2 separate regions of the Homo sapiens genome follow, and region 2 is linked to region 1. The links are contacts of gene promoters, found by promoter capture Hi-C in blood cells and fetal thymus (Javierre and others, 2016). All regions are on one chromosome and are shown on one strand. Each heading gives the region's core, a stretch centred on a gene start or on the middle of the fragment in contact. The rest is flanking DNA. Distances are from core to core; before and after follow the strand shown.

The links. The method cuts DNA at HindIII sites, captures the fragments that hold promoters and counts their contacts. A CHiCAGO score of 5 or more calls a contact.
Region 2: a contact is called between a fragment that was not itself captured here and the fragment with the promoter of TNFAIP3 in region 1, in 1 of 17 cell types (activated CD4 T cells). The highest score is 5.6, in activated CD4 T cells.

The regions. Positions count from the first base shown.
Region 1 is chr6:137,865,797-137,869,083 of GRCh38, reverse strand. It overlaps TNFAIP3 (TNF alpha induced protein 3), which reads right to left and starts at 1,825. Exons shown (of 9, transcript NM_001270508.2): 1 at 1,542-1,825. It overlaps WAKMAR2 (wound and keratinocyte migration associated lncRNA 2), which reads left to right and starts at 851. Exons shown (of 4, transcript NR_049793.1): 1 at 851-1,442; 2 at 2,200-2,501. RefSeq lists silencers at 1,279-1,378, 1,519-1,688, 1,929-2,068 and an enhancer at 2,149-2,288. The HindIII fragment of the contact is 5,781 bases long and covers 1-3,287 here.
Region 2 is chr6:139,151,977-139,155,225 of GRCh38, reverse strand. The region is part of intron 1 of HECA (hdc homolog, cell cycle regulator); the gene reads right to left. Among named protein-coding and RNA genes, the nearest start is that of HECA, 19 kb to the right of the region's middle. The HindIII fragment of the contact is 2,249 bases long and covers 338-2,586 here.

The sequences.
Region 1 (3,287 bases), core at 576-3,075:
CCTGTGGCTACAGTGCCTGCCACAATCAGATGGAAAGAGATGGGCAGTAGGAAGATTTTAAACAAATGAGGTGTTATCTCTTTTTGCTTGCCTGACTCTTTTATTTTTCTCTTCTGAATCTAAAGATTTTTCACCAAAGATCTAAAATAGTGAGAGCTGTAAACCATAGGCAAGACATGCAAATGTCAATATCGGATACGCCAGTGTGATCTCATTGGTAGGGTTAGCCTTGCACAGCCTGTAAAACTGCCTCCTTAGAAATCAAAACCCACTGCCCAGATTTCCAGGTCTTGGACCACTCTACGCTTAAGATTAAAGAACAAATGTTTCAGATACGTTATAAGTGGCAAACAATGCAATATTACCCTTAACTTTTTTTTTTTTAACATTTGTTACCTCACTGTCTTATTTAAAGGTAGTTTCTCAACTTTTGTCACTAGGATTCCACAGAACTTCTCCGTTACTCAAACTCTTCTCCCCCTTGTTTTATTTTTCCACTCTGGGCAGACATTTTTGTCTGCATTGTGGAAATTGATGAATTATTTATCAACAAATACCTCATCCAAATTTGGGGATGTGCCTCTCCAAAAAATCAAAAATAGTACAAAGAATTGAAAAAAAAATCAAAGCAGCACCTTAAACAATGAGAATGAAGCATTCATTGGCTGCTCAATAATCTGGTACATTAAGGTTGCGGTCCAGAAGTCCCTTTAATTAACAATGGTTCTGCCAAAATGCTACCCTGAGACACTTGACCAGACTGGCTTTCCAAGGCAAGAAGATCTGAGGCGAGGAGAACCGAAAACAAAGCGGGCTCAAAAAGAGTTAAGCTCCTTCCTTACTTAATGCCACTGCTTTTCTGAGAGGCCAGGTGGCAGGATGTGGGACGACTCCAGCTGACAAAGACAGTCTAACCGTGGGGTAGGGGCTGGAGCAGGGGCCAGCGACCCACGTCTACATGCATACTTCTCTTACACTGCTGCTACTGGAAAAGCTGAACCCCGCGCCAGGACCCCAGCCCCCTGCAAGGACCCGTGAGCGTCTGGGAAGCTGTCTCTGGGACTGAAGCCCCCCACCTCCGCCGGGCTGGCGGCCACTGCGGTACCCTACGCCCCGTCGGGCTGGTCCTGCACAATTTGGGAAAAAGCCGCAGCGCTTCTGCAAGGTCTACGTGGCCATGAGCATGCAACGCTTGGCTCCAAAAAAGACACGAAAGGAGCAAAGCGCCAACGACCACCCGATCGGAGGGCCCGAGGGGCGCCTCTTCACCAGTCAGCTGCAGCTTAAGTTCCGTGCATTATCTGAAAGGAACAGCTGGCTGGAGGTATCCAGGGCTGTCACTCCAACCTCTGCAGCAGTGACCTCAACTCCCAGCACTTCAAAACCCAGACAGAAACGTCCAACAAACTCCCAGTCCAGGAGCGCTGCAAAACCAACGCCAGGTAGACGGTGCCAGCCCGGGGGTCGCTGCCCAACATGCACCCGCAGCCCTTGACTGCGGTGAGCCCGAGGCAGACGGCACGGGGAGGCGCGGCGGTTACCTCTCCGGGAGGCGCGGCGGTTACCTCTCCGGGAGGCGCGGCGGTTACCTCTCCGGGCCCCGCGATCCTTTCGCAAAGTCCCAAGTCCTGGTCAAGGCAGGAGCGCGCCGCAGGCGGGGGTCGGGGCAGGGACCGGGCGGAGGCGACGCTCCATGGACGCCTGGGGTCGGGCTCGCTCGCTGGCAGGGTCGGCTGGGGGTGTGATCTCTCTTGGCGGCCGCTCTCACCGCTCCGCCCCCGCGGGCTCCAAGCTCGCTTGGCCCGCCACGAAGACTGCAGACTGCGCAGTCTGCTTTGCCCCGTTTCAGTTGTATGCGGGTTGTAGGCCCGGGGATTTCCACGGGACTTTCCAAAGTCACGTGACTCTCTGGGTCGGGCTGCGAAGTGCGTCCAGCCGGCCGCCAGAGGGCGCAGGGGGCGAGGGGCGCGCGCGGCCTCCGCCCGACCGGGCCTGCGGGCCCCGCCCCGCCCCCTTTCCCTGCCCCGCCCCGCTGCCCCGCCCCGCCCGGTCCCTGCAGGCGCCCGGAGAAACTCCCTCGCCCCGCCCCGGGGTGTCCCCGCGTGAGTCACCTGGGCATTTCGGAAGCTGGGGTCACGTCACATCCATGTGGAAATCGCGGTGATGGGAACTGGAAATGAAATAGGTTCTTTTTCGCAGTTGTTTTTCTGCAGAAAATCATCAACTGTGGAGAAGAAGAAGGGAAATAAGAAAGAAAGAAAACCCTAAAAACCACCCTGGCGCCCGGGCCCGCAGGCCTCGGGCCGGCTCTGAAAAGTTTGGGCTGTGCACGTGATGAGCGCGTAGGCGGGAGCCCCAGACAGGACCCGGGCGGGCATTTCGAGAAAAAGCAGCGGTGACAGCCTTTGGTCCCCATCTCCATTGTTCCTGCCAGCTCTGGACCCCAGGCTGCATGAGACGTAGGTCCCAGGGGACACCCGACCCCGTGGCCCCAGTCTTAGGTAAACTTAGGAATCAGAACAACACTCACCCCTATGCCGCGCTTGCTCCATTTCCCCTTGTCTATTTCTGCTCACCAAGCATCCAGCTGACATTGCATTCAAAGCAGCATTTCAGCTTAGAAATCGCTTCTAGTCCATCACGGTGCTTGCCATGTGTCTCCAAGGCTTTATTAGGTGTGTTTTTAGTTGTCCTGATAATCAGTTCACCCCAGGGTGCTGATGGCTGATAATACTGGCGCTTCCCTCCCTACCCCCATGCGTTGCACAGGGAGGGTGAGTCATGTGGAGATGGATGCAGCCCCCTGGGCAGTGGGGGTGCAGGTGCTGTGCAGGGAGGAGTCTTAGGGCGTTTTTACTGTCTTACTGCCCTCTAAGCACGGGACCCTTTGGATCATTTACTAGATTGGCTAAACTAGAACCGGATGGAAATATTCTGTACTATGGTCCCCTTAATTACATTTAAGAATACTTGTCAGGCCATATATCACAGGTTTTTAATTAGAAAAGTATCCTCCTCTCGCCAGTAAGGACTTGCAGAGATGGGGGTGGGGGCTGGATGGAGGGTGGCACTTTTTTGGCAAAAAGAAGTTTGGAGCAGAGTGTCACTAGTGGCCTCTCTGAAGACTGGTCCTCGTCTTTTAAAACCGATGGCTGGAATTTCTTCCAGTTCCAAACCTCTTGTTATTTGTCCTCTCTTCTTGTTCACAAATGTGCTATCAACATTCAAACAATGGATAGTCAGCTATCCATTGTAAATGGACCTTGCTGGAGTCCAGGGCTAGCAGA
Region 2 (3,249 bases), core at 213-2,712, 1.3 Mb before region 1:
TTTAGATGCATAAATGCCATTGTGTTCCAATTGCCTACAGTATTCAACGAACCTGCTGTACAGGTTTGTAGCACAGAAGCAACAGGGTATACCATCTGGCCTACGTATGTAGTAGGCTATACTTTGTATAAGTACACTCTATGATGTACGCCTGATGATGAAATCGCCAAATGACACACTTCTTAGAATGTATCCCTGTCATTAAGCAATGCATGACTGTATATATACAACTGCGGAGAAACTGTCCAACCAGTTGTTAAACAATCCTATTTTTAAAGACTTCATGTCAGTCTTTAGTACTGTATTCCAATATTATCCTTGCTTAGGAAAATAAGCTTGATTTTGATTATCCATATTAATGTCCTCCTTTGTCAGCACAAATATTCAAAATGTGGCAATACTCAAACCTCTTTACTCATAGTTTATCTATGTGATTTTCATTTACCATGTAAATTACAACGCAGTGTAAATGCTGGACCTGCTTCTTCTCTCTTGATGAGCCCCAAAATGGTATTTGGAGGCCAAAGGCCATGGCCGATTTGGCCCCTTCCCCTTACCTCTGAAATCCCAATGACCTCTGCTGAAAAGACTAATGACTTTACCCCTTCCCTTGTCTGCCCAACAGGTAAAGCATAAGACTGCATGATTAACTGGCAACACGGGTCATCCGTAGACCAGTTACCGGTTAGAAAATACAACTCACAACTCCCTGCTGTTCAAAATATTCTAAAAGCTCAACTGATAATAGGTGATATGATGTCTATATATCCCCTAGATCAGAGTTCCAATGGGGCAGTTTGGCCTGCATTGTGTCTTAGTAAACCAGTCCAGAGTTTTTTTTTGGAATGTGAATCAGAATGCTGTTTTGGTGCAGCACACATTCTCCAGGTAGCTAAGACTCCCTCTCCACCCCATTCATATGCAGTCTGTCCTCTATATCTGTGGGTTCCACATCCATGGATTTGACCAATTGTCAATGGAAAATATTCATGGAAAAAAAACAGATGGTTGTGTCTGTATTGAACATACACAGGCTTATTTTTCTTGTCATTATTCCCTAAATACAGTATAACAACTATTTACATAGCAATTACATTGCTCTGATACCACAGAGCTAGGGAAAGGGGGAGGTACTAACCAAGTTAAAACACCACAGCTCACTGTTTTTATTATGATTCAGTCATTTCTCTTGAAAGAACACTCTTAGAATTACTGTAAGCCTTTGGTTAATTTCCAGAGTTCTGAAAAAGTTAATTTTGGTAATTCTTGGCAGTGTTCTTATTGCTTTCATGGAGGAGCAAATTTCTGGAGGCCCTTACTCTGCCATCTCAGAAGTCCATCTTAATAAAAATTTAAAAGTTTATATGTATATTTTGTTATAGGAAAATATGATAGGATGATCAATAAAATACTTCTAAGCAGGACAATACCCTGTCTTAGGATCAAATTCTGAGTACAAACTGAATGGAAATAAAGAAAAGAATGTAAAATTTCTATTATTTTTTTAGGCCGGGTGCGGTGGCTCCCACCTGTAATCCCAGCACTTTGGGAGGCTGAGGCGGGAGGATCACCTGAGGTCAGGAGTGACCAGCCTGACCAACATGGCGAAACCTCGTCTCTACTAAAAATACAAAAATTAGATGGGCATGGTGGCACGTGCCTGTAATCCCAGCTACTCGTGAGGCTGAGGCAGAAAAATCACTTGAACCTGGAAGGCGGAGACCGCAGTGAGCCGAGATCGCGCCACTGCACTCCAGCCTGGGCGACGAGAGCAAAACTCCCTCTCAAAAAAAAAAAAAAATTACATTATTTTTTAAATGGATGATAATGGTTACCAAGTTACTACGATAATTAGGATTCTGTTTGCATAAATTACAATGTTTACAATGAACTGGAAACTGTATCCTCAGCATCTATTTAAGTCTTTAGAAAACTGGGTGTGACAACTTAAAAATTTACAAGAACCCTGTTTTTTTTCTAATTCTCTTAGGAGATACACAGCAAAAAAAAGTTTGATTGATTAATACCTTCAGATCGGCATTCTGAAAACTTGACTATGATCACATCATACACACATTCAGAAACCTCAGAAACTCAGACTAATGCTCCAAGTTCTTGGGTCATGTTCAAGGAGCTCCTGTAATTAGGCCCCAGCCTTGCTTTTCCATCTGATCACCAGCTAGGGTAAAGTCTCTGCTTCAGCCTTGGCCCATTCCTGTGGCTGTAACATGGAAATTAGGTAAGACACAGGAGTGGACAAAGAAGCTAACTGCAGCCCACTGATGCTCCACACTGTGCCTCAAATTCACAGGGTGTTTAGGAATCATTTCCTATATACTACTATGTACCCACAAAAATTAAAAATAAAAAGAAATTTAAAGAATCATTTCCTGATTAACCGGCAAGTATTATTTAAATGAAAACTCAAAAGGTTTTAATATAAATTTCCTCAAATATTTTTAAGACCTTTTTTCTACTAAAAATAAAGACACTAAGCACTACACATAAAGGAAGGCTAGTACTTACAAAAATATTTTGTCAACTTGTTTTAATTAGTATAGGAGCTACAATGAGATCACTTAAGCTTATCTGTCTTAACCTTTGATGTAATTTAACCTCCCCTTATGTTATTTTAGTGTGTGAACCTGCTCCAAAGTGAGTAGCAAATTGAGCACAAGGCAATTACATTCAGTTAAACATGTTTTTCTTTGCTTACAGTAGGATTTAAACGAAAAGCTTTTACTCAGGCAAACCACTCTGTCAAAATAAACATGGAAGCTACACACACACACACACACACACACACATCCAATGCTTCAATACAGTTTACAACTTGGGTTTTTAACATTCTCTTAATATATTTAGTCTGTTCTCCTAGACCCACCCTTTTCTTACTTTGAAATTAAAACCCACAAGTCTACCCAGCCTCAAATTCAAACTAAATAAAAAACTCTAGGTTTCTATTTTACCTGTTATTTCCATTCTGGCTCTGACGCTCTGATCTCAGTAAGAAATCACATCAATAATGACTATAAAGTAGAAGATTCATATTTTCCTTGTCTAATAGAAGACACGTCAAGACCCAAAAGAATACGGACCCAGAATATGCCTGGTTTAGGCTGAACATCAGGATGAAGATAATAGTGTCATAGTTTATCCTAAATGTTTCTTAAAAGTATCAAAGTTTCACAGAATAGAAATAGGACAATCACTTTAGTCCAGATTCCACATACTCTTTCTGAGCACAGG